Linked DNA regions of Homo sapiens: all the other regions are linked to region 3. The links are contacts of gene promoters, found by promoter capture Hi-C in blood cells and fetal thymus (Javierre and others, 2016). All regions are on one chromosome and are shown on one strand. The core of a region is centred on a gene start or on the middle of the fragment in contact, and the rest is flanking DNA. Distances in the headings are between cores, read along the strand shown.

The links. Contacts are between HindIII fragments. The CHiCAGO score rates a contact against its expected background, and 5 or more counts as called.
Region 1: a contact is called between a fragment that was not itself captured here and the fragment with the promoter of KRR1 in region 3, in 2 of 17 cell types (M2 macrophages and naive CD4 T cells). The highest score is 7.2, in M2 macrophages.
Region 2: a contact is called between a fragment that was not itself captured here and the fragment with the promoter of KRR1 in region 3, in 2 of 17 cell types (M0 macrophages and M2 macrophages). The highest score is 7.1, in M0 macrophages.
Region 4: a fragment that was not itself captured here is called in contact with the fragment with the promoter of KRR1 in region 3 in 1 of 17 cell types (total B cells); the score reaches 6.1 in total B cells.
Region 5: a contact is called between the fragment with the promoter of BBS10 here and the fragment with the promoter of KRR1 in region 3, in 15 of 17 cell types (M2 macrophages, naive B cells, total B cells and 12 more). The highest score is 18.6, in M2 macrophages.
Region 6: a contact is called between a fragment that was not itself captured here and the fragment with the promoter of KRR1 in region 3, in 2 of 17 cell types (naive B cells and megakaryocytes). The highest score is 6.4, in naive B cells.
Region 7: a contact is called between a fragment that was not itself captured here and the fragment with the promoter of KRR1 in region 3, in 1 of 17 cell types (naive B cells). The highest score is 5.3, in naive B cells.

Annotation. Positions count from the first base shown.
Region 1 is chr12:76,367,213-76,370,852 of GRCh38, reverse strand. It overlaps OSBPL8 (oxysterol binding protein like 8), which reads left to right. Exons shown (of 24, transcript NM_020841.5): 20 at 1,031-1,216; 21 at 1,552-1,639. Among named protein-coding and RNA genes, the nearest start is that of BBS10, 21 kb to the right of the region's middle. The HindIII fragment of the contact is 528 bases long and covers 1,371-1,898 here.
Region 2 is chr12:76,330,122-76,334,143 of GRCh38, reverse strand. No RefSeq gene overlaps it. Among named protein-coding and RNA genes, the nearest start is that of BBS10, 16 kb to the left of the region's middle. The HindIII fragment of the contact is 1,908 bases long and covers 1,753-3,660 here.
Region 3 is chr12:75,509,619-75,513,298 of GRCh38, reverse strand. It overlaps KRR1 (KRR1 small subunit processome component), which reads left to right and starts at 1,690. Exons shown (of 10, transcript NM_007043.7): 1 at 1,690-1,786. The coding sequence starts at 1,702. RefSeq lists enhancers at 1,723-1,882, 1,389-1,932, 1,933-2,477. The HindIII fragment of the contact is 5,214 bases long and covers 1-3,680 here.
Region 4 is chr12:76,484,934-76,488,824 of GRCh38, reverse strand. OSBPL8 (oxysterol binding protein like 8) reads left to right here. Exons shown (of 24, transcript NM_020841.5): 2 at 1,207-1,315. The coding sequence starts at 1,274. Among named protein-coding and RNA genes, the nearest start is that of OSBPL8, 73 kb to the left of the region's middle. The HindIII fragment of the contact is 3,840 bases long and covers 639-3,891 here.
Region 5 is chr12:76,347,043-76,350,874 of GRCh38, reverse strand. It overlaps BBS10 (Bardet-Biedl syndrome 10), which reads left to right and starts at 2,460. Exons shown (of 2, transcript NM_024685.4): 1 at 2,460-2,713; 2 at 3,088-3,832. The coding sequence starts at 2,517. RefSeq lists enhancers at 2,059-2,108, 1,255-2,204, 2,205-3,154. The HindIII fragment of the contact is 11,737 bases long and covers 1-3,832 here.
Region 6 is chr12:76,467,707-76,471,802 of GRCh38, reverse strand. The region is part of intron 2 of OSBPL8 (oxysterol binding protein like 8); the gene reads left to right. Among named protein-coding and RNA genes, the nearest start is that of OSBPL8, 90 kb to the left of the region's middle. RefSeq lists an enhancer at 75-154. The HindIII fragment of the contact is 1,323 bases long and covers 912-2,234 here.
Region 7 is chr12:76,420,740-76,424,951 of GRCh38, reverse strand. All of the region lies in intron 4 of OSBPL8 (oxysterol binding protein like 8), which reads left to right. Among named protein-coding and RNA genes, the nearest start is that of BBS10, 74 kb to the right of the region's middle. The HindIII fragment of the contact is 318 bases long and covers 2,560-2,877 here.

The sequences.
Region 1 (3,640 bases), core at 385-2,884, 860 kb before region 3:
GAGATATTTTGCTAGGCACTTAGTACTTATTATGCAACTTTGTCCTCCCTACATGTTTGCACATACATATCATTCTCTGTCATGGGAATTCAAGTCTGTGTACCTTCCCTTCTACACTCAAATTTGAGGTTGTCAAAGATGGAAGAATGTATATGTACCAGTTCTAAAAATTCTGTCTCAGCCATAACCATTTGATGTTCTTTTTCCAGAGATAAGCTTTGCCAAGGCATACATATGATAATTTGTGAGAGTATATAATTCAGCATATTTGAAGATGAGGAAATGAGACTTAGGATAAATAACTTTAAGTGCACCAGCTAAGAAGTGGCAGCTCTAGGACTTGACTCATGTCTATCTGATCCCAAAGCCTTTTCTGGTTTTAACATGCTGCCTTTCTAGATGGGTAGGATATAGATATACTTTTATTTAACAGAAGAAAGAACTAGTAGGGGAAATCATTTTACCTCAGTAGTCTTTTCTGTTAAACCAGTGGTTCTCAACACTAGCAATACATTAAAATATTTTGGGGAAACATTTAAAAAATATATCAATACTTGCGCCTGACCCCAGAGATTCTGATTATAAAAATTCTCTGATAATTCATGGATCCAAACTTCAGAAGCACTGCATTACATTAATGGATCTTTATGAAGCCAGTGAATCTTAAACAGTGTAAGACGCATCTAGGAAGCTTGCTAAAAGCGTAGATTCCTGAGCTTTACCTTCATTACATCCTATCATCTTGAGCCAGCAACACTTCAACACTTACTATCATGAGTTTAAGAGTCTATGTAGTAAGTTTCTCTTGCCAAGTAAAAAAAATTAGTCTCCACTTATGAACAGGTCTCTCTCTACTCAAGGGACTGGATTTATATCTTGACTCATTTCTAAGCCTATGAGCATAAGTGTTGTCAAAGCCAGAAATTCATGTGAGCATTATTTTCTCTACAAGGGATTTGAGGCCTATTCTATATAGATTTTATTTTCTGTTACATTTTTAATACTTTTAATATTTTCGCACATGTATTAGACTCTGGCAACGGGTAACTCGAGCCATAAATGCCAAAGACCAAACTGAAGCTACCCAAGAGAAGTATGTTTTGGAAGAAGCTCAAAGACAAGCTGCCAGGGATCGGAAAACAAAAAATGAAGAGTGGTCTTGCAAATTATTTGAACTTGATCCACTCACAGGAGAATGGCATTACAAGTTTGCAGAGTAAGTAACTTAAAATAGTTTATTTCAAACAATGTATTAGCATGGTTTGTTGCCTTTATTTCTAGAATATTTGTTGCTGGAGTAGTTTTTATTTAATTAAACCATGTATATTAGTGTGAGATTTTTAAACTTGGTTTTGCATTCATTATAAGCTTGACTCTATGATAGAAGTTAGCCTATAAAATAAGTTGAGGATCTGAAGATTAGGTATGGGGAAATCTCATTATTAGAACTATGTATATAATTATTAATAAAATTGGATCATAGAATAGAAAGTTTTAAAGTTCTTTGTTTAGTCATTGAGCAAATGGTTTTTTTTTTTTTCATTTATGTAGTACCCGACCATGGGACCCACTTAATGATATGATACAGTTTGAAAAAGATGGTGTTATTCAGACCAAAGTGAAACATCGTACTCCAATGGTATGTAATAAAAAACTAGGTACACTAGGTATATAAATCTGTTAAATCTTTAGTATCTATAGCAACCAACTAAAATTTGGTTTCAAAATTTAAAATTTTGGGTGAGCAAAATACGCAGCTCTGAACTCTTCTTACCCCAAAGAAACATCAGAAAACAAGCAAAAACTGTCAACTCAATTTGCCAGAACTCTGGAAAACAGTCAGAGGTGTTCAGCAACCAAGTGAACACTGGTCAAGAAAGTGCAAAGAGAGGAAAGCTTTGTGGCATTTTACCTGCCCTTGCCCCAGGTCCATCCCAGTGCAGTAGCAGTCTTGAAGAGCCCCTGCGTTGCCAGTGTAAGTCCCTAGTTCCAGAAGGAGCAGAGTGGACCTCATACACAATTGTGTATGTCTGTCCTAACCTGTCAGAATACTACCTGAAGGACTTACACAGGCACTCATCTCTGAGAAAATCAATAAAGACAAATTATTCAAGGGAGCCAAACAAATTCTGGAGCTGAAAAGTATAACAAAAATGAAAATTCACTAGAGGTATTCAAAAGCAGATATAAGCAAGCATAAGACAGGATCAGGAAACTTAGAGATAAGACCATAAAAATTATCCAGTCTGAGGAGGAGAAAGAAAAATGAATGAAGTGAGGTGAACAGAGCCTAAAGGACCCATGGGACACCATCAAGTGGGTTATCATTGCATTATGGGAGTTCCACAAAGAGAAGACAGAAAAATGAATGAAGAATATTTAAGGAAAGAAGACCCCCCAATCCCCAAATTTGGTGGAAGATATAAATCTACAAATTCAAGAAGCTCAACAAACTCCAAGTAGGATGATCTCAGAGAGACCCACACCACAACAAACTGTCAAAAGCCAAAGAGAGTCTTAAAATCAGCAGAGAGAAACAACTTATCACATACACTGGGGATCATCCATAGGATTAACAACCGATATCTTATAGAAACCATGGGGGCCAGAAGGCAATGAGATGACATATTTAAAGTGGTAGAAGCAAAAACTTGTCAATCAAGAATTCTGTATCTGGCAAAACTGTCATTCGAAAATGGGGGAGAAATTAAGACATTCCCAGATAAAAGCTGAGGGAGTTCATTACCACTAGACCTGCCCTACAAAAAAATGCTAAGGTAAATATGTAATAAAATGAAACTCAAAGCTGTATGAAGAAATAAAGATTTTTAGTAAATAGTTGGACAAATATAAAAGCTAGTGCTATTGTAATTTTAGTTTGTAAGTCCACTTTTTATTTCCTGCAGGACTTAAAAAATAAATGAATGAAAAATAATTTAATTACATATCTTTGTTATCAGACATACAATGTGTAAAGATATAGTTCATTACAACATAAAAGCAGAGAGGATGGAGCTGTATAGGAGGAAAGTTTTTATGTACTACTGAAGTTAAGTTGGTATCAACTCAAACTAGATTGTTGTAGAGGTAGGTGTAAATGTCATCCCCATAGTAACCACAAATGAAATATCTAAAAAAATACACACAAAAGAAAATGAGAAGGGAATTGAAACAGTTTACACAGGAAGCAAACACAAAAGCAGGCAGTAATGGAGTAAATAAGAAACAAAAAACGTATATGACGTATAGAAAATAGCAAAATCAGAGGTAAGTTCTTATCAGTAGTTATTTTAAAATGTAAATAGATTAAACTCTCCGAGCAAAAGACAGATTGTAAAAATTGATTAAAATAAACATGACCCAACTATTTGCTGTGTACAAGAGATTCACTTTAGATCCATAGGCAGAAATAGAGAAAAATGAAAGTTTGGAAAAAAATATTATGTGCAAATAGTAACCAAAGGAAAAATGAGGTGGCCAATAGTAACCAAAGGAAAACTGAGGTGGTTATACTGTCAGACTAAATAGACTTTAAGTCAAAAATTGTTACAAGAGACAAAAAGAACATGGCGTATTGATAAAAGGGTCAATTCATACACACACACACACACACACACACACACCAATCAACAAAGCCCCA
Region 2 (4,022 bases), core at 1,457-3,956, 820 kb before region 3:
TATGGATGTGGTTTAAAATCATTAAGTCAGTAAAACAGAAACAATAAGATCGACCTTATCTTACACTTTAAAGGGTCAAAGGTAAACATCAAGAACCATGCTGGCTTGGAAACATATATGCATTTACTGAGTCTTCATTGAGTACCCTCCTGGGCTGCACACTCAGGATTAAACAATGAGCAAAACTCATAGAATTCCTGCCCTCATGAAGCTCACAGTTTAAAAATGGGGAAGATTGACATGAATCAAATGTTACATAAACAAATGTAAAATTGCTGCCTCAATATATGCATGGTGCACAGTAGAGGGATTTGATCTAATCAGGAAAGTTTCTCTGAGGAAATTATGTTGACACTGAGATCTCAGGGTTGAGTAAGAGTTGATGAGGTGCAGAAGGAAGAGAAGAGAGTTCTAGGTGAAGTATTCAACAGACATGAGACTTGTGGGCGGAGGTGTGGAGAGGACAAGGCACTGAGGAGGCCAGCATGGCTGGGGCAGGGGAGGCTGCACTTGGATGCAGGAGAGGTGTATTAGTCCATTTTCACGCTGCTGATAAAGATATACCAAGACTAGGAAGAAAAAGAGGTTTAATTGGACTTACAGTTCCATATGCCTGGGGAGGCCTCAGAAGCATGGCGGGAGGAAAAAGGAGCTTCTAACATGGTGGCAGCAAGAGAAAAATGAAGAAGAAGCAAAGGCAGAAATCCCCTGATAAACCCATCAAATCTCATGAGGCTTATTCACTACCAGGAGAATAACACAGGAAAAACTGGCCCCCATGATTCAATTACCTCTCCCTGGGTCCCTCCCACAACAAGTGGGAATTCTGGGAGATACAATTCAAGTTGAGATTTGGGTGAGGACACAGTCAAACCCTATCAAGAGGGAACAAGGAGTCAGACCTCACCCTACTCATCTGTCTCTAATAAAGGAAGAGAAGAAAACATTTTATATGCTTATGTGAAATCAGTGGTTGCCAGGGAATAGAGTCTGGGGTAAGGATTAACTATGAAGGGGAATGAATGGACTTTTGGGGATGATGGGCTGTTGTGTATCTTGACTGTGGTGATGGCTACAAAACTGTATGTGCTCATCAGAACTTATAGAACTGTGGACTGAACAGGATGAATTTTACTATAAGTAAATTATGCCTCAATAAACTGGACCTTTTTTTTTTTAAAAAAAAAAGACACTTTTATGCAGGCACTTTAACAGAGGGGTACCATAACATAGTGAATTTTTCTATGATATGGGTTTTGGATTTCATCCAAACAGGTGTAATTCCTGTCACATCAAAAGAAGACTGTCATCACGAGGCTTAAGCTGTCCAGTGGTTATCTGTAAGTAAAACCTCCCAGTCAATGATAGTGAGCTGTGTGTGTGTGTGTGTGTGTTTTGGTGGGAGAGATAAACACATTTCAAAGTAAATTAAATTTAGTAGAGTTTTTGGTATTAAAGTAACAAATTTTCATAACTTTGCAAAACACAAAGGGAAGGAACATTTTAGAGGTAATGAATCAAGTGACTATGTAATATAAATGCTCTTTTTTGATTGCTCTGTTTTTATTCTGAAAAGTTTGTTGTATAAATACGATTCTAAGATAACAGTGATGCTTAACAATGGAATTTAAAAGACTATTATTTTGTTACAAAACCTTTAACAGATATAAAGCAAAACAGGTTTTCCTAACTCAGAAGCTGATATAGTACTTGAGATATTATCCTTAGGCACGACACTGATGCCATTAAGCTTTTGTGAAATTAAAGATTTGAGAAGAACATTGATCATTGCAGCATTGGACTTCAACAGCTGAGCTCTCAAGGTTTTCAATGTAAGATGTTGTTAATGAAAATGAAATGTATAGTATTCCACTATATAAATATGCTACCATTGATTTATTCATTACAAAGCAATGGGAATGACAGCCCACAACTACACACAATACTGTGAATTGACCTCATAAATAAAAGAAGGCAGGTACAAAAGTATATACTGTATGATTTCACCTATGTAAAGCATCAAACCTGGAAAAGCTAGTCAATGCTATTGCAGGCCAGTGCAACAGTCCCCTTGCAGGGCAGCAAGGGGATCTAGTGACTGAAAGAGAGCATGTTGTGGATTTCTTGGTATGGATAATGTTCTATTTATCTGGGATCTGGTTACATAAACGTGTTCAGTTTGTTATTCATCAAGCTATACACTTATTTGCATTTATATATATGCTATACTTCAATAAAAAGGTTTTTTTAAAATAAAAAAGAAATATATGGCACAATAGCAGAAGACCGTGTCGTAAAACAGAAAATTAGGACATTAGCCTACACTTCTCATGATCACCGATTGCTCTAACAAAAGGCTACTATACACTTGACAACAGAACTGTCCTATCTGAGCAGATGCCCCTCTTTGGTTATTTTTTAAATTTTTTAAATTAACAGATAAAATTGTATGTATTTACTGTGTACTACATGATGTGAAGTATATATACATTGTGAAATGATTGAATTTAGCTAATTAACGTATGCATTACCTTGCAGAGCTATTTTTGGGATAACACTTGACATCCACTCTCGGCATTTTTCAAGAATACAATATGTAATGAACTATAGTCGTCCAGTTGTACAGTAGATGCTTTCAACTTATTCCCAACCACCTTATTCCCTGGTAACCATCATTCTACTGGCTACTTCTATGAGATTACATAGAAGTAGACTCTGTGTCTAAATGAGACCATGCAGTATTTGTCTTCCTCTGGCTGGCTTATTTCATTTAACATCATGTCTTTCAGGTTCATCCATGTTGTCACAAATGTCAGGATTTCTTCTTTTTTATGGCTGAATAGTACTCCGTTGTGTATGTATACCACATTTCTCTTCATTCATTCATGTATTGATGTACACTTAGGTGGATTCCGAATCCCGGCGATTGTGAATAGTGCTGCAGTAAACATGGAAGTGCTGCTATCCCCTCAACATGTTGATTTCATTTCCTTTGCATATGTACCCAGTAGTGGGATTACTGAAACATGGTAGTTCTATTTTTAATTTTTTGAAACATCTCCACACTGTTTTTCATAATGGCTGTACTAATCTACATTCCCACCAATTGTGTACAAAAGTTGTCTTTTTTTCCATATTCTTGTCAATGCTTGTTAACGTTTGTCTTTTTGATAGTAGCCATTCTAACAGGTGAGAAGTGATATATCCTTATAGTTTTAATTTGCATTTCCTTGATGATTAGTGATGTGCAGCACTTTTAGATATACCTGTTAGCCACTTGTATGGAAGACCCCCTACCCCTCTCTTTGGGCAGGCAGCTTCAGGAGAGGTTCAGGAGCAAGGGAGCACAAAATCAAGCCTAGCAGCCAACAAGGTGACAGACATCATAGCCCAATCACCTTCATGTTCTCATTAAAAGATTTGGGACTTTTACCTAACAAATTCAGTTGCTTAAAAACTGAGCCAGACATTAATATGTCACAGTGTTGGGGCATAGCACTTCTATAGGGCTTGGAAGTTGGAAAATCTGTTTTCTTGTATTTCTCCTGCTTTCACTAATTATAAGCAAATTTATCAAGCACAATTTTATGCAATTCCCTTTGCCAGAAGCTGTGGGGGATGAAAAGATACGTAAGACACAGTTCTTGACTTCAATAAGCTTGTGATTTCATAGGGAGAAAGCCTCACACCATGAAAAGATTAACCAAAAATACATAGCGGTATGTAAAGGTTGAATGGGGGAGTGCTGATTAAATGCAGCTTTTATCATGTGAGGTGAGAGCTTACTGTGGGCAATAAAGGACAGAGAAAGCTTATCAAAGGAAAGTAAACTTGAGTCGGAATTTGAAGGAAAGGATGTAAAGGAATAAGCCAGACATGAAAGTAAGCTAGAGGGGAAATTTCAAGAGAGAGAAATAATGTAAATAAAGATGCTAAGGGATCAATACACAAAGGACATTTAATTGGGATTGCCTCATGGCGCAGAGTCTGAGAAAATATATTCAAAGAAACAGTCCAGCAAT
Region 3 (3,680 bases), core at 441-2,940:
AAAGCAGACAGTTTTAGTGTGGTGTCATCTATAATAGGAGGTCTTGAGGACGTTAGAGAATCTTAGAACTCAATTATTATCCATGTTTTTACACCCCTTTCAGTAATGATTTGGAAAAAGATGTAAAAATTTCAAAAAGGGACAGGTGAACTGTGGGCTCTGCATAGTATGGTAATTAAAAGGTTGGGTTTTACAAACAGACTCAATAGTGCCAAGAAAAGGATGGGTGGGTTTTCGTTTTCCCATCTCCATCATATTCTCAATATTCCTCAAATAATAGCAATACTAAGATTAAAAATATACACGTAAATGGGAAGAAAAGCCTATGTAGAAAATTTTGCTATAAAATAAAGGGCTTTAACACAAATATTATTTCTAGACTATTCCCTCCCCTTAATCCCTATCAGCCCTCTAACACATTTGAAGCTCCTAATGAATAGTAGCCCCCTGAAGCTGCTAGGTCAAACTGCCTGAACTTGAAGACGGGCCTTCCACTTATTAGTGATTGAGTTACTTAAAATAAGAATGATAAAAACCTGCTTCATGAGGTGTACTCCTCACTTTATAACTTTCACCTGCTGCTATCTGTTCTATTTTAGGAATTTATCATTTTTTGAGGAAATTAAAAGAACAGAGATAAAATCCCTGTCATTTATAAAACTCACAGGATAAAAACAAAAAACCCCTCTGTCGTGGGTTCTTCTGTCCATATGTAACAATCTGTTTCATACCTGGATCTCATATATGAAAACCTAAATTATTGTATAAGATACACGAGAGTGGATTTATCAGACAAACGTGTATTTCACTAATGCAAGGAATTTAACCTATCAAAGACTTTCCCTATTTGCTGCAGAAAATTTTAGAAATGCAAGCAATAAAATCAAAATTTAAAAAAATCTTATATTTGGCATGTCGAAGAACTCTTATACTTCCAAAAGTGTAGTTATTTGTAGTTAGTGATGAACCTCTCTACACATCTTAGCCCTATGTAATGTTGGGGGTAGAAAAGGAGTTTAGAGATTTTGAGAAATCTTAGGCTAGTTGAAATACTTCAGAAACGTCAGGATGTTGAATTACCATCCCTCTGACTTAGAGAAATACCAACACTCGGGAAGATTACCATCAGAAACAACTTTGAAAAGTTTAATTTTGTCACTGTTTTTAAAATTAGAAATAATGTAAATAAAGTACTGAAACAAAGTAGTCTCACAATAAATAGTAGCTATTCCTGTCACTTGTTGCAGTGGAGGCCCAATATACATTGTATTCTCATATTTGTACTTCCTCCCAACATCTAGCGCATATTTGGCCAACATATAAATATTTATCGAAAGAATGAATGACATCAATGACAGGTTGGTAGCACTCCGCTGTCCGATGGTCCAGGTTAGGCCGTGAGGCCACGAGGAAACTACGGATAAAACAGTATCCAATTTGCCTATACCGCCTGCTAAACTACAAGTCCCAGTACGCAAACTCCATGGTTTCAGGGCATACTGGGAGAAAGTCTCCGGCTCTTCATTGGCCACGTAGGAGAAGCTGTGGTTTGTGTAAAAGCGCGGGCTTAACGCACGTACGCACGGAGACTGCGCAGATCTCCTCGTCTGAGTTCCGCGGAACTCATTTTGAGTGTAGGCGTTTTAGCCGGTAGGGTTTAAGAACAGTTTCATTTCCGGAGCCACCGGAAGCAGCTTGCAAATGGCGTCTCCCTCGCTGGAGCGGCCAGAAAAAGGCGCTGGAAAAAGTGAATTTCGTAACCAGAAGCCGAAGCCGGAGAACCAAGGTGATGTTATGTGGGAACCGAAGCCTGGGGTTTGTGTACGTTGAGTTGCGATGTTTTTTTCTTTCGTTCCTCGTGGACTTATAAAACCACCTGGAGCCTGTACTGTGTAGTTGAGTACCTGAATAATCGCTGATAAGATTTTGGCTGGGCCCACAGGAACGGCTGGCCGATATGGTGCCACCCAGGTGTTCCTAATTCATTGCTTTTGCTAAAGGGTCCCCAAAGCGAAGCTGTTGCGGATTACGTCTTTTGTAAAAGGATGAGTATTAAGAAAATGCCTAGGGCGACGCAGAACCTTGTAAGCCTGCGGGTGGCTGAAAGTCACTGACGGAATGAGGAATAGGGTGAGGTGGGAATAGGTAGTCATGATATACAAGAGTGGACCCTGATAATGGGGTGAGGTATGGGGAAAGGAGCTATCCGACATGTCCTTAGCTCTAGTTTGTCAGTAAAGACATTTTGAAAGATTATCAATTCCTGTTTGTCAGATGCTAAAATATTAGACGACACAGCCCTTACTGTTTAGGTTGTGTTACCTTTTAATTGTTAACTCCTGCGTTGTAGTCTGGTTTTACCCGTTTTCTTCAGTGTGAATGATAGAGAAGTCATAAATAGCCTGGGGATCTGTTCAACCAGGCTTATAGGAAGTGTTAAAAACATTGAACTCTCAATTTAGATGCATTGGGAAAGTATTCAAAGTTTCTTTGTTGTTGCTCATTAAATGATTATGTAACGTACATAGCAGGGGATACAACTTATATAGAGTTTAATAAAACCATGCGGGAAACTAGCATTCAGACTAAGTAAAATAGAGCATTACCATACCCCTCAAACCCTTACGTGCACCTCTCAGATCATATTCTCTTTTCCTGTATCAGACGTAACCACCCTGAATTGTGTTGCATTCTGTTCCTCTTCTTGTAGTCATGAAGTGGCTTAATTTAGCCTGTTTTTTAATTTTATATACATGAAAGTGGACCGTATGCATTTTTCTGTGTCTTCTTAGATTTAGCTTTTTGTTTTTCAAACAGGGTGATACTTGCGGGTGTAGTTTTAGTCTTTTCACTGTTATGTGGTGTTTCCTTGTATGAATATACCCCAATTTATTTTTTCATTTTACTATCGGTGGACATTTGGATTGTTCCCAATTGCTTGCAATTATAAACAATACTGCTAAAACATCTTTGTACATGTCTTCTGGTTAACATGTTCAAGGGTTTCTCTAGGTTGTGAACATAGGATTGGAATCACTGAAGTGTAGGGTGTGTGTAAGTAATGCTAACTTTTTTCCAAAGTGCTAGTGTCAGTTTTGTTCCCACTAGGAGTGGACGAAAGTTGTCATTGCCTTACATTAGTATGAATACATGTTATCTGAATTTTGAATTTCTGTCATTTTGGTAGTTATGAAATGGTATTTGGTTGCAGTTTTAGTTTGCATTTTCTGATCACCTATGAGGTTGCATATCTTTTCACATGTTTTGAGGCTTCCTTAATTGTGAAACTCCTGAGTATTTCTTTTGTCAGTTTTTTTCCTGAGGTTGTAGTGGGGATTTTAAAAAAAATTATCCATAGCCTTTGAAGTGTTTAAATTGGATAGGGACTTCGTCAGGTAAACATTGTAAGTAACTAGTTGCAGTGACTCACACCTGTAATCCCAGCACTTTGGCAAGCTGAGGAGGGGGGATTGCTTGAGCCCAGGAGACCAGTCTGGTCAACATGGCAAAACCCTTTCGCTACAAAAAAAAAAAAAAAATTAGCCGGACATGATGGCACATGCCTGTAGTACCAGCTACTTGTGAGGCTGAGGCAAGAGAATAGATCGCTTGAGTCCAGGAGGTCCAGGCTGCAGTGAGCTGGGATGGAGCCATTGCACTCCAGCCTGGGTGACAGAGCG
Region 4 (3,891 bases), core at 1,309-3,808, 970 kb before region 3:
CCTTTTACTTGAACACTTAGAGGCCTTTGTAGTGTTATTAATTGGACTAATTTCAATATTATTGTGACTGATGGAATAGAGAAGAGCCGGGAGAAAGAGAAAATGGGAGAATGGCAGATGGGTGGAACAGTCAAAACCTCCTACATTTATCAGTTCAGTTACTTGTTTTATATGGCTGCAGTTTGTGGTGCCCCAAAATGATTACAATAGTAATATCAAGGATTATTGATCACAGATTGCTGAACAGATACTTTAATGAAAAGGGTTGAAATATTTGAGAGTTACCAAACTATGACACAGAGACACAAAGTGAGCACATGCTGTTGGAAAAGTACCGATAGACTTACTTGCTGCAAGGCTGTCACCAACCTTCATTTTGTAAAAAAGGCAGTATCTCTTTGTGCAGTAAAGCGAAACACAATAAAACAAGGCATGCCTGTAGATATACATATTCATGGTAAAAATGGAAATATACAGAAGCAAAGAGTATCTTATATATATAAAATGTTCCATCACTCACATTTCCCACCTTATGTGTTGTGATCCTCTTTCCAGTTTAGTATATATAGATCTACTTCATTTTTTAAAATTGCTGCATGATATTCTATTGTATGTCTGTAATATAATTTAAGGAAGCTTCTAGCCATCAACATTTAAGTTGTTTCTAGTTTTTTTCATCAGATTTATTACTGTGTTGGAATTGTTTATATATTTCTGGGCATTTGTATATCTGTGGGAAAATTTCTAGTCTTGAAATTGCTGGATTAAAACATACATATTTTTAATTGTCCTTCAAAAAATTGTCCTGATTTATATTCTCATAACAAAAGTACATGAGAATATCTGTTTCCCCACATTCTCTCCCATGATGGATTTTAGCATACTTTTTAGTTTTTACCAATGTAATAATGAAAAACTAATTTATTTCATTAGTTGTAAGTAGATTTATGCATCCTTTCAAATTTTAGGCAGTCTCATGTTTAACCTTGCTCTTACTATTTTTCTTCACTTGGAATATTTTTTTCTTCTTTCATTTTTCTCTGAACCTTTACCATTCTTCAAGCCCATGTCAATTTTTTTTTTAATTATTGAATTTCCAAATAACCTCAGACTAAAATGATTTTTCCCTTCTAACAAACTCAATGCTTTATTTCTACTTGTCACAGTTTTATACCAGTCCTAATAAATATCATTTTCTTATTTTAGGATTTGCAGATTTACAGAATGGCTGCACATTAATGGAAAGAGAAGCATAAACCTATCTTCTTTCATTATGGAGGGAGGTTTGGCAGATGGAGAACCTGATCGAACTTCGGTGAGTAGTTCATATATGACATAGGTTCTATCATCTGTAACTGTGAAGTGTTTGATGTAAGCTAGGGTTTTGTTTTTAAAATATATTAACAACAAACTTTTAAAAAGTATTTTTAAAATAATGCTTTAACTCCTTGAGAATTACAGATACTTTAAATGATATGAAAATTACAGATAGCTAGCTAGGCATGGTGGCTCACACCTGTAATCCTAGAACTTTGGGAGGCCGAGATGGGTGGATTACCTGAGCTCAGGAGTTCAAGACCAGCCTGGGCAACAATGGCGAAACCCTGTCTCTATTAAAAATACAAAAATTAGCCAGGTGTGGTGGCACATGCCTGTAGTCCCAGTTACTTGGGAGGCTGAGGCACGAGAATTGCTTGAACTTGGGAGGTGGAGGTTGCAGTAAGCCAAGATAGCGCCTCTGCACTCCAGCCTGGGCGACAAAGTCAGACTCGGTCTCTAAAAAAAAAAAAAAAAAAAAAAAAATGAAAATTGCAAATAGCTTAAAGTTTGTTGGAGCACACCAGTTTTCTGATATTTCTGCTCCATCCTCCTCCTCTTATTTTATCTATCCTTCCAGCCATATAGTGAAAGACATACTGATAGAATAATTTGTTTTCTCCCAAAACCTCTTTGTCTTAAGTGAAATCAAGAGAATGTTAACATTTGAGGAAATTAAATGCCTCCAAATCTCAAATCACATGCAGCTATGAGTAATAGTGGGAATGAAACAGTTAAAATAAGAGCAATTGCCACATATATTCTTTTTATAAAAATATAAAGATTTAATAAACATTTCTACCCTGTGATCATAATTGAATTCTGAAATTAAACAAGTAGTGGGTAGCAGGAAAAGTATACCTTACCTAATACATTAAAACAAAATCACTAGTAGGATGGACTAAATGATGATTTGTCATTTTTTTCTCACTGTACAAAAAGATTTTACTCCAGAATAATTTCATTTTCAATTCTCTTGTTGCATTTTGAGTGACTCCATTATATATTGATGTATAGACTCTTAGAAATATTTCTGTTACCTAAAGTAAAGGTGCCCCCTTCAGTAAAATGTAGTCAGCTGGTAGCTTTATCATTAGTTAGGTGGTAGATTCTTTAACAAATTTACATTGTTGGAATAAGGTAGAGCCCAACTTTTATGTCTTTTATATTGCTGTGGAATTGAGAGTCACTATTAGATTGCGGTGTTTGTAAATTTTAGTTTAGTGAATGTCCTTTGTTCAGGCTCCAGTGTAGGAACAGTCTAATGATTGATAGCAAAATGCAGTTTTGCTGACTAATATTAACTTGGTCCCAGCCTTTCTTGAATTCCTGGTTCAGTCTTGTTTGGGGTTCTTAAATGATCAAAAAAAGTTAAACTTTAAAATAAATTGTTAGTAGAGAAGAAAATGGGTGTGGAAATTCTTGGCTTATGAAGAAGGCTGTTGTCACATTGATTTAAATGAAAAACGGATGGTAAGTTACTTTATTTTTACTATAATTTCAGAAGAAAAGTTAATATTAAGCCTTGTCTGTAGAACTTAATGTTTATTTTATGATAAACTTTACCTTTTTTTATATCTAATGGACTTAGATTCTTTCAACTCAAATACTTTTGGTCTTCTAGTGATATTAAAAATATCAGTTGCTGTTTTTAAGTGTATGCTTTGTTAGACTGTCCTCATAACAGCTATTAAAGGTAGATATTTGTTTATCCTCACTTTTAGAGGTAGGGAAATAGGCTCAGAGAGGTTAATTATCTTCTCTAAGACTTCACAGCTTAAGCGATAGAACTGAAATCTGTCTGTCTCTGAATACTTTACTACTAAGATGTTGACTACATACCTATATTTCTGAATAAAGTGTCTTAAAATTTGTTGTTACTTTTCAAAGTATGTATCCAAGTAAATGTTATTACATTTTATTACCAGACTCCTTTGGCTAAAGTAATAAAGTTTTAGTCATTTCTGGAGTGCGGTGGCGTGATCTCTGCTCACCGCAACCTCCGCCTCCTGGTTCAAGCAATTCTCCTACCTCAGCCTCCTGAGTAGCTGGGATTACAGGCATGTGCCACCATGCTTGGCTAATTTTTTGTATTTGTAGTAGGGACAGGGTTTCTCCATGTTGGTCAGGATGGTCTCAAACTCCCAACTTCAGATGATCCACCTGCCTCAGCCTCCCAAAGTGCTGGGATTACAGGCATGAGCTACTGCGCCCGGTCTTAGTCATTTACTATTCCAAATTTTGTTGATATTGAGAAGTTAAAAGTTGTTTGAAAAGTAGTGAGAGGCCGGGCACGGTGCGTCACACCTGTAATCCCAGCACTTTGGGAGGCTGAGGCGGGTGGATCACCTGAGGTCAGGAGCTCGAGACCAGCCTGGCCAGCATGATGAAACCCTGTCTCTACTAAAAATACAAAAAAATTAGCCGGACGTGGTGGCAGGCACCTGTAATCCCAGCTACCGAGGAGGCTGAGGCAGGAGAATTGCTTGAACCTGGGAGGCAGAGGTTGCAGTGAGCTGAGATCGCGCCACTGCACTCTAGCCTGGGCAACAAGAGCGAAACTCCGTCTCAAAA
Region 5 (3,832 bases), core at 1,211-3,710, 840 kb before region 3:
GGCATCTGAACCAGAGCAACTCCAGTAATTTGGTGGGTGCGTCAGAGGCATCTGAACCAGAGCAACTCCATCTTGAATAGGAGCTGGGTAAAATGAGGCTAAGATCTAGGCTGCATTCCCAGATGATTAAGGCATTCTAAGTCACAGGATGAGATAGGAGGTTGGCACAAGATACAGGTCATAAAGACCTTGCTGATAAAACAGGTTGCAGTAAAGAAGCCAGCCAAAACCCACCAAAACCAAGATGGCCACGAGAGTGACCTCTGGTTGTCCTCACTGCTATACTCCCACCAGCACCAAAGACAGTTTACAAATGCCATGGCAATGTCAGGAAGTTACCCTATATGGCCTAAAGAGGGGAGGCATAAATAATCCACTCCTTGTTTAGCATATCATCAAGAAATAACCATAAAAATCGGCAACCAGCAGCCCTTGGGGCTGCTTTGCCTATGGAGTAACCATTCTTTTATTCCTCTTTCTTAATAAACTTGCTTTCACTTTATGGACTCGTCCTGAATTCTTTCTTGCATGAGATCCAAGAACCCTCTCTTGGGGTCTGGATTGGGACCCTTTTCCTCTAACAGGTGTAATATAAATATCTGTTGAGTGCTAACTATGCCAGGCACTATGCAAAGTGTTTAGTGAACATTCTCCACCTACTCAAAACCTCTTGAGATTTTTATTTTGTATATGTTATCTCCACTGGTTTTTTTGGCGGGGATTGTTTTGTTTTGAGACAAGGTCTCGCTCTGTCGCCCAGGCTGGAGTGCAGTGGTGCAATCTTGGCTCACTGCAACCTCCCTTCCCGAGTTCAAATTATTCTCATACCTCAGCCTCCAGAGTAGCTGGGATTACAAGCATGCACCACCATGCCCAGCTAATTTTTGTATTTTTAGTAGAGACGGGATTTTGCTATGTTGGCCATGCTGGTCTTGAACTCTCGGCCTCCTGTGATCTCCCACCTCGGCCTCCCAAAGTCCTGGAATTACAGCCATGAGCCACTGCGGCAGGCCCATTGTTTTTAAAGATGAGAAAAGCAGAGATCAAAGAGGTTACTTGGTGAATGCCACAGGTAAGGAAATGACAGAGCAAATCCAGGTCTGAATCCAAAGCCCATGCTCTCAAGTGCCTGTGTTTTAGGCCAGGCAAGGTGGCTCATGCCTGTAATCCTAAAACTTTGGAAGGCCAAGTTGGGAGGATCACTTGAGGCCAGGAATTCAAGATCAGCCTGGGCAACACAGGGAGACCCTGTCTCTACTAAAAGAGAAAATAACCAGGCGTAGTGAGGCACAAAGCGACTTGAAGGCTAAGACAGGAGGATCACGAGCTCAGGAATGCGGAGCTGCAGTAAGCTATGATCTCGCCACTGCACTCCAGCCTGGGCGGCAGAGTGAAACTTCATCTCTTAAAAAACAAAAAAAATGTTATAAGAGACAGTATTTTCTGTCTTTGGGTTATATACAATAATCCTTGGCCATGTGTTTTAAAGCATACTGTTGATCACCGACGTGATTAATGGATTTAAATCTGCACAGCGGCTCATGCCTGTAATCCCAACACTCTGAAAGGCCGTGGCAGGTGGATCATTCAGGTCATGAGTTCGAGACCAGCCTGGTCAACATGGTGACATCCCCATCTCTACTAAAAATACAAATATTGGCGGGGCACAGTGGCGTATGCCTGTAATCCCAGCTACTTGAGAGGCTGAGGCACGGGAATCGCTTGAGCCCGGGAGGCGGAGGTTGCAGTCAGCCGAGATTGCGCCACTGCACTCCAGCCTGGGCGACAGAGCGGGAGTCCATCTCAAAAAATAGAGACTTCGCATCATTTCTGCTTAATATATTTGTGGTGTCTAGAGTTTTATTGTGATACCTGAGTCTAGGAAATGTGGTAAAGCCTCTGCAGCAGACATAAAGCCTGCAATTCATGGCTGTGGCCAGGCTCTCCTCACCTGTCCTGCATCTACAAATTATTTCCGTTATGGTAAGGAGAGCAACTCGTGGGGAATGTGGACAGGAACATGCGTGAATCCAAGGCAGAGGTTTTGCCCCGGAAAAAGCAGCTTCTGGCAGGGGATGAAAGCCAGCAGAGTTCCAACCGGGGTGCCCTCTCCTTCACGCAGGCCCCACTACCGTGTTGACTTAGGAAGAAAGTTTCTCGGGAGACTAAGGGATTTGGGGGCAGCGGACGCCACTGGAGGGAGATGAATTCACCTAGGGAGCCGGGGAGGGGCTTAGGGTTGCCGCTCCAGGCACAGCTGCTGGAAATCCTAGTCTGTTTTTTCTGCCTTCGCGTACAACGGGCCAGCTCACCCCACCTGGCAAAGCTGCAGGGCTTTTCCACCAGGCGGACAGAAGGGCAGCCCTCTCGCCCAACCAAGAAGCCGTGCTACCCCGGCTTCGACTCCTGGCTTCCGGGTTTTCTCCCCGCCTATTCCGTTTCCGGCCGTTCCCACCCCTGTTTTCGGTCGGCCCGGGTGTTCTGCAAGCTGGTCAAAAAGGGGAAGCGGCCCAGATATGTTAAGTTCTATGGCCGCTGCAGGGTCTGTGAAGGCGGCGTTGCAGGTGGCCGAGGTGCTGGAAGCCATCGTGAGCTGCTGCGTGGGGCCCGAGGGACGGCAAGTTTTGTGTACGAAGCCCACTGGCGAGGTGCTTCTCAGCCGGAATGGAGGCCGCCTCCTGGAGGCGCTACACTTAGAGCATCCCATAGCCAGGTACCCGCGTCCCACACGCTAACCCGTAGCCGGGCACCCCAGGCAGCCTCTGTGGAGCTCTTGTCCCATCCTGAGGCGATGCGTACTTAGAAAGACTGACCTCGGGTGAAACCGCTGTATGCTCGGAATTAGAGCCCTGCCCAAGGGAACACTCCTGCACCCCAAATCTTACCAATTCTCAAGACCACTTCTCCCCACTCCACCCAACGGTGGAATCTTGGAATAGAGCAGAGTTTTTTCCAAGAAAGGAAAAAACTAAGGATGTATCCAAGGAACAATATTCTCATTTTATGCTTATGGCTGTGTAAACATGGTTTTAAGATGTGGGAAGCCAGCCTTCTGAAAATGAGTTGCTTTATTTCTTTTTTGTACAGGATGATAGTGGACTGTGTTTCCAGTCATCTCAAAAAAACAGGAGATGGTGCAAAAACATTTATTATCTTTCTTTGCCATTTGCTTAGAGGACTTCATGCAATCACAGACAGAGAAAAGGATCCTTTGATGTGTGAAAACATTCAAACCCATGGAAGGCATTGGAAAAATTGTTCTCGGTGGAAATTTATTTCCCAGGCTCTCCTAACGTTTCAGACACAAATATTAGACGGTATTATGGACCAGTACCTAAGTAGACACTTTTTGTCTATCTTTTCGTCTGCTAAAGAGAGAACATTGTGTAGGAGCTCTTTAGAGTTGCTCTTAGAAGCATACTTTTGTGGAAGAGTGGGAAGAAATAATCATAAATTTATTTCACAGTTGATGTGTGACTACTTTTTCAAGTGTATGACTTGTAAAAGTGGGATTGGTGTATTTGAGTTAGTGGATGACCATTTTGTAGAGTTGAATGTTGGTGTCACTGGCCTTCCTGTTTCAGATTCCAGGATCATAGCTGGTCTTGTGCTTCAGAAAGATTTTTCTGTGTACCGCCCAGCAGATGGTGACATGCGAATGGTGATAGTAACAGAAACCATTCAGCCTCTTTTTTCCACTTCTGGATCAGAGTTTATTCTAAATTCAGAAGCACAGTTTCAGACATCTCAATTTTGGATTATGGAAAAGACAAAAGCAATAATGAAACATCTACATAGTCAGAATGTAAAATTGCTCATATCTAGTGTGAAA
Region 6 (4,096 bases), core at 324-2,823, 960 kb before region 3:
GAAGTGAAAGTCATTTTCAGTTTGTCACATTTGTGAAGTGTAGGATTGATGGGTGTTTGGAGGAATGCATGACATAAGATTGACAAAATTGTGAAGAGCCTTGAAGATGGGGTTAAATGTTTTTCTCTCCAATTTTGGTAGGCTGTGGGAGTGCAGAATCATTGAAGTGACTCAACCATGTTGTTGAACAACTTTAGAAGGCTCTCTATGATATCGGTATGGAAGATAAATTGCTTAAGTGTAAGAAATTCAGGTGGCAGGTAGTAGCAGTAACTGTGGATATGAGAAATAAAGGGTAAATATGAGAGACTACGTAGAGCTTTAGGACCTTGTCCTGGACTTAATATTAGGAGTGGAGGAGAATATAGATGAGGAAAATAAAAGTGAAGGAGAAATTTAGAGCGACTTACAGGTTTCTGTGTTGTGTGATTTGGTGGGAGGTACCATTCCTTAAGGGAGAAAATATAGGAAGAAGAGCAGGGGCAGAGAAAGGGAAGATGAAGTCGGTTTTGGACATACTGAGTTTGAGATGTGTATCCAAGTGGAGGTGTACAGAGGCTTGGTGTCCCATACAGTTTCTCATTTAATCCTTTCTATAATACTGTAAGGTAGATGTTACTCTGTTTTTAAGAGATGAAGAAACCGAGGCTCTGAAAGGGTAATTTGCATAAAGTCAGTTAGCCAGACAGTGGGCAGCACTAGGATCTAAATGTAAATATTCTAATTCTCTTATTCTTATTGAAAGAGAGGGCTTTTTTTTGGGTTATAAACTCATCTATATTACACCTAGACTTTTAAGCATCTTTTTAAAGTTGTTATATTCATTAGTTTTTATATTCATTACCTAATATAATTTTTGGTATACATTGAAAAATATGTGATACGTGATCTGTTTTATTTAATCCAAAGCTTTATTTTCCTGTAACTATTAATAATTTTGACTTTTCTATCTAGGCTGAATATTTTGACATTTGAGCACCATGTAGTTGCAGAGACATGAGGAACAGTTGCTAACTGCATTCTTATGTGTGGTAGATTGATGAGTCATGGGGGTTGACGTTTCCATGTTATTATTAGCAGTCTTGCCTGTGGCTTGATGCTGTGCAGTGTGATATACTAATCAGTGATTTGTTAGAAATGGAATAGAAATCTAGAAGGAATGAAGGTATTTTTTTGCAGCTCTTATGTCTTAATTTAGATCTCAGTCATGATTTAATCTAGAATGTAGGCTCACATATCTCTATATAAGCATGCAAAGAATTGGCCAAAATGAAATTTCAAGTAAGATGCTTTTATTTCAGATTGACAATTGAAATGCGTGAAACAGGTCGTAAGATGAAGCATCAGACACTGAAATGTTCATGTATATGCTGTCTCATATAACCAGTTCTCATATCACCTGGCATGATTATGATGTGATAATATGGTTTCGGTTGTGCTATTTCATAACCTTTTCAGGCAACTGTGGCTCGTTAGGCCAGATTTAGAGGAAAATGTTAATGAAGTCAAAGCTCAAGGTTATAGCTTTAATTCTTTTAGTGGGCAGTAAAGTTTTTCTGGTTTCCTAACCACAGAGTCCGCCAGCAGTCTCACCAGATGCATGCCATTAGTTACAAGTGAAAATCATATTGGTTAATTTTGAGCTTCTCTTGTATGTGAAGACCTTGATAAAGGAGGTTGGATTAATCATGGCAAGAGACCACCAGTGCCAGAAGAAATGTAATTCATGTTTCATTACCAAAAACTGATAGTGAATCTGTAACAATGTTATTTTATGCAGGACAGAACTATTTAAGGAAAAGAATGAGGGAATTCTTAGTGATGGAATTTGGGCTTATCAGATGGCCAAAGACTTTGCTAGGTATTAGGGTTATAATCACTAAGCCTTTTTTTTTTCTTTTCTTGTCTTTATTCATTCAGTATTTGCTGAGTGTCCACAATGGTGCCAGGCTCTGTTCTAGTTTTAAGGAATATAGCAGTGAACAAAATAGACAAAATTCCCACTTCAGTGGAGCTAACATTTCAGTAGAGAAAGAAAAAATATATAAATATGAACTGTGTTACGAGATGATTGCTGTGACGAAAAATAAAGCAGGGTAAGAAGGATAGAGAGTAACAAAATAGGGGATGATTGCTGTTTTGGGAATATTATGGAAGTATTGTGATGAAGTAGCTTTTGAGCAGAATCCTAAAGGAAGTTTTCTAGGCAAAAAATAAGAACTGAGTGTAAAGCTTGCATATCTGTTGGGCAGACGGTGGTTAGTCTGTAAGCGTTTGGGGTTGTGGGAAAGGGTGAGTGAAGGGTCTTTCCTCCTACTCAGGAAGGTGGAGGTACAGAGTCAGTGTTGCTAGGAACACATGGAGCTCTGTGGGCTCTCCCCTGCAATCCGACCTGATAATAGAAAGATGCAGTGACAAGACAGATGGAATATCTATTTGTTATGCCTGCAGTGGGAGGTCAGGAAATCCCTTATCAAGGATGTCATGCTTTATATAAGAAGAATGAATTCACCAGGAGAATCATTGGAATGGCCTTGAGGGTCTGCAGCTCAGGAGTGGTTAAGGTAGGAAACTGATTTGGGGAGTTAGTGAACTGAGCTCTTTAAAAAATCAAGTCAATGGAATCACATGGGGAAATCATGTTGAATGGAAATAAGAGATTCTAGGATGCAGAGAGAGGGAGGAGAAAGAGAAAATAGGTTGGAAACTAAGAGAGGACAGAGTTTTCAGAAAAGGAGTGGTCAGCAGTGGCAAATGCTAGAGGTGTGGTCAGTGTTAGGTGAGCTAGGGAAAGGTAAGATTGTGCTAGACCTGAGTTGTCTGATAGTATAGCCACTTCCCACATGTGACTAATTTAAAGTTAACCTAATTAAATTAAAAGTTCTTCCTTAGTTTTACTAGCCACATTTCAAGATTTCAATAGCTACATGTAGGTAGTAGCTACCCTGTTGGACATTACAGATACACACTATTTCTATCGTCGTAGAAAGTTCTATTTGACAGCACTGTACTAGACCATTATAATGGTGGAGAAAAGTTAAATAACAATTGAATTATTTATTTATTTGTATGGCAAGAGAGACAATACTGTGAGATAATTATGAATTATCAAAGAATTCACATTAGAAAGTCAGAGTTGGAGAACGATAACTTTAGCTTGAACATAGGTAGCAGAATTGGCAATTTGAGCTCTCAAGGTGAGGGGTTTGTTGAGTGTCTGCTATGGCGCAAAGCTCTGTTCTAGTTTTAAGAGATATTGCAGTGAACAAAATAGACAAAATTCCCACTCCAGTGGAGCTAACATTTGAGTGGAGAAAGACAGAAAATACATATAAAAATTTCAAGCTATTGAGTAGGAAAGCAGAAACAAAGTAGGGAGAAAATTACAGATCACTTTAAGCAATCAGTTTTACTAGACAGAATTTTAGCTAAGTGGAGTTTGAGTTAAGTGGAGATGTGAGACCATCTCATAGAAAATCATTATTTCTGTGGGATGGATAATTGGGCCAAATTGTAAAATATTTTAACTATCAGTGTTTGGGGTTTATTTTTAAAAGAATAGGGTGCCACCAGATGTTCTTTAGTGGAGGAGAAATGAGGCCAGAGTGACTGCCTAGAAAATTAAGTTGGTAAATTAATCACTTTTTTCTAGGTCCTTTCTTAGTCTTTGTCATTTGTTTTAATAATAAGTAATTCTGCCTTATGTCTATATACTGATTTTCAAAACAAATTTATATACAATACTCAGGTAAACTATTATTAAGCCTCATAACAATTCTAGAAATTTGGAAGGTTTAATAATTAGTGCATTTACAAAGGAGAAAAAGAAACCTCACAGAAAGAAGTTAAGTGGCATGCTAATGATGGGATAGCCTGAAGAATGGGTAATGTTGGGTAGACTGGAGATCACTTATCTTAGTGTTGAATAAACCGTAATACATACTGTCTTCTGTGTATGGTGATCTTGGCAGTAGGGACTATGTTTTTATCATGTTTTTAAATTCTGGTATGTAGCATAGTAAATGAATGAGTGGGCTGAGACTGCATGCAGGGACATCTACCAAAAGGGAGATGCAGAAGTTGACACATGAGGTGA
Region 7 (4,212 bases), core at 1,469-3,968, 910 kb before region 3:
GCAAGACCATGACTACTTGTTCATCTCGAGCTTTGCAGTGTCAAATTTATGTTGTTAATATATCCTCTCCTGGATATGTACTTTTGGGATATATATAGATATTTGTTTATTTTTTTAAAATACCCCTTTTCTTGATTTTACTTGAGTTTTAGGAGGGAACGCATTTGTTCAGTATCTTCATTTTGCCATTTTAACCTAGACTCTTTTAAGACTTTGTGTATCATCTGATTTAATCCTCATAACAATCCTATAATATCAGTACTACTATTAGCATTGTATACGTGAGAAAACAAAGACTCAGAGAAATTAAACTGTTTAAGTATTTCTAGGAAAGATAAAACAGAGATTTGAATGCAGTTTAATTTCAAATCCTGCTTAACTATTATACTAGCATAATGCTGTTTGTGATGTTCTTTATGCCTTTAAAGGCAAGCACCATTACATGAATTATAATTATTTGTTGTCTACAGTTAATAATAATGTACATTTTATGATATGGAGAAAAGCAAAAAATAATAATAACCAAACCAACCCCTAAAACCCACAAACTTGTTGCAGTTATGGGTATTAGTGGTAAACTTATTCTCCATTAATTGATTTTGAAATGCCTTTGCCCAAGAAAGAATATGTCACATACAAGAAATTGAGTTTTGCCTGGTGCGGTGGCTCACACCTACAATCCTAGCACTTTGGGATACCAAGGTGGGTGGATCACCTGAGGTCAGGAGTTTGAGACCAGTCTGCCCAACATGGCGAAACCCCATCTCTACTAAAAATACAAAAATTAGCCAGGCATGGTGGCAGGTGCCTGTAGTTCCAGCTACTTGGGAGGCTGAGGCAGGAGAATCACTTGAACCCGAGAGGTAGAGGTGGCAGCGAGCTGAGATTTTGCCACTGCACTCTAGCCTGGGCGACAGTGAGACTCCATCTCAAAAAAAACCCAAAAAACAAAAAAGAAATTGAGTTTTGCTTTTTCATGTGTTCTTTCTAGTAAGGACAAAGTCTTAGATTATATGAGATGTTGTGCATGAATAGAGAACCAGCGTTGAAGTGAATGCATAATAAGGAAGGATACTGAGATCTTATGGTAAGATACCTATAAAAATGAGCCACTAATAAATTTTAACCTAGATGGTTATTGTCCAGCTGAGTGGGTGTATTTTCAGATTGAAAGAAAGAATTATAACCAAAAAAATCAATCTACGGCATATATAGAGAGCATCTGACTAGAGCTTTTAAATCTGAATTAAGGTAGGGTAAGGTATATGGATTTTAGTATAATTGGGAGAGAATTCTTTGGAATTTTAAAGATTAGGTATAAACAGATGGTACCTGTTAGATTTAATGACGTGGAGTCAATACTGGTCACTTAGTTTTAAACATAGTACATTTGTCACTGTGATAATAAAGTTGCTTTTAAAAAAAATTTTTTTTAAGCAGGAAAGACTCATTGATAGACTGAACAGTTTAGATGTAATGAAACTGTTCAAATTAAATTTTGAACAGTTTAAATGTAATTAAGAGGAACAGTAGCAGCTCATATTTTCTTCAAGGAACATGTTAGAGCATACAGCATTATGGTGTCGTTTTAATCTCCTCTGTTGATTGGTTTGCGCTAACACTGTCTTAATGACTCATATATCCCTGCTGGAGGCAAAACTTAAATGTTTATTCTCTGCTTTAACTGTTGGAATCCATCAACGTTGTGCTTGAAAGAGTATCTTTCCTTATGAATGTTTAATCATGGCTGAGGCAAGCTGTAGATTAGATATAAATCTAGAAGCTTCAGGGAAGATAAAAAGCATTATGTTTATATCCATCTTTGAAGTAAGTAAAAGCTGGGAAGGAAGGAGTCGGAAGAGGTGGGAAGTGTGGCCGGATAGTACAGAAACATAATGGATATGATAAAAGGATTGCATTTCTGAGAAGAGAAAATGACTTTATTGCTTCATCTTGAATTGCTAAGTATTGATCTTGTTTTGTTTTCCTAAAGCAGCAATTCAGTGCAGGGTGGTTTGATAAAAAGGTAAAACATTAGTAGAATAGCCTTTCATGTTTATCAGTTCCTTTTTTTAAAAAATCAGCAGCATGGTTTAATGCTTTTTCTGTCAGGCTTTCTCTATCTGTTTATTGCTGATTTGACAGTCTTTGGTCCTTCTCCTTTGCTGTTAAATGTGTGTGTTCTTTGTTTGTGCTGGTGGGTTTTGCTACAGTTGGATGTGAGAGAAAAGCCTGTCTTTGCCATATTGGTCTAATTAGCCTTTGGGTGAGCATATACATTAAATAGACCTTCTGAGCTATGAAAGAAGAGAGCTCACAACGTAGATTTTCTTCCTGTACTGGGGTTTTGCCTGTTTTATTTCCTCCCCGGATTGATGGCCGAAAGCTTGTTCGGAATGCTTCATTTGGAGGATACAATGAACTTTCTCCTTCATTGCCAGGTTTGTGTGTTTAATCTTGCATTCCTAATTTCTTGCAGACTTTTAATTAAAATAAACCAGGCATTTTAACATTTTAAAGCCGCTTTCATTTAAATAAAACAATTCTGTAGTGAAAGCTTAGGTTTCAGTAACTGCTGCTAAACAGCTTGGCTTTTCCATATTTTCTCTTAGAGCCTCTTCAGTTAAAACTTCAGAAGTAATGATTCAGTAAAGTAGGAATCTTGAGTGCTTACGGCATAAATTTTTGCTTTAATTATAGAAATATTATGACCCTTTGATAAAATTAAAGCCCTTCTAGACTTGAGATAAACACAAAATTATATAAATAAACACATTGCTCTGAGGGTTTACCAAATGAAACCCAGATATTAATATTGATATTTGTTCATTTTTTGCAGAATGGTAACTATATTAAAGTTGATGTTTAATGTAAGCTTTAATCTTACCACTTTATTATCTTAATCTTTTTATCTTAAATTCTTAAATTTATCTTAAATTCTGACTAAAGTGAAGCTTTCTACTCAAGTATAGTTTTTGAAATACCTTAGCTTCCTCTTGTTGTTAGATGTATTTGTGTGTGATTAATTTTTATCATGAAAATTTATGATATTTTTAGGGTTATATTTATTAGGCATTTGACAGCTATGATTTAGGCATTAAACAATTGGTCAATGAGATGTAGACATAAATTGATCTTTTATTGTTTGAAATTGTAGCAAATATTTGAATATGTTTAAATAATCTTTTCCTTTCAGATTTTTAAACACTATATAATTATGTCTACTCTTTTAGGGTTATATTTTCTTTTAAAATAAAAGTACTATTTAATAATGATGGCAAAGAAATATTGACTGAAACTGATACTTGTATTTATATATTTTTTCTGACACTTAGATTTTGTTGAATTAAATTCCCTATTTTCACAATAACCTTTATTCTTGGCTTTCTGAATATTCATGTTGATAAGTGGTATATGTGTTCTTCTGAGATAGTGAAACGCCTCATAGAAAGTGTTCACCTGGGCAATTAAATAAATTATAAATTGACTGATTTCATTCTTTTCTAACAGTGTTTCACAAAAGAATTGGAAACCATAGTCCTGAACTCTCCCTAAGTAGTATAAGCTTTAAATAGCACTCAATCCATATTAAGTCTTCTTAGTGTAGCATGGTTGCTCTCATGCGTCTTTCTTATGTTTTAAATGGTGTAAATTTTAGTCGTTTGTCATTCAGAAGTGGCTTTGCAAATACAAAATACTGAGATTTTTTTAATGTTAGATATTTTTTATTTTAAAATGAGTTTCATTTCTGTATTTGTTTCTGTCTCTTTGTTTGCATTTTTTAGGCCAACAAGCTTGCTAGTATATATTGTTTGCTGACCTTCATGCCACAAGTCCACTTAGCTTTACAGAATAATCATGTGACCTTGATGAACAATAGAAAACTTAGCTTTTAAGTTTGGTACTTATTTAATTAGGCAGTTAAAGGCAAAATTGTCAGTTTATCTTGTCAAAGAAATATTAAAAGCCATCTTGGATGGATTTGTTTCTATAGAAAAGTAAATGGTTTGCTTTGTTTTCTAATTCTTGAAATAGAGAAAATCATATTCATAGGAATGATTCCATCATCTCCTTAATACAACCAGCTGTGATAAAAAGCTCTATAAAATATCTGCTTTTATCAACTAAGAAGTAGAATGGAATTAAGTACTTCAAAGAAGTGGCTTTTTGTTGTGACTTAAGGTAAAAGTAAAAAGTACATCTAATATCTCC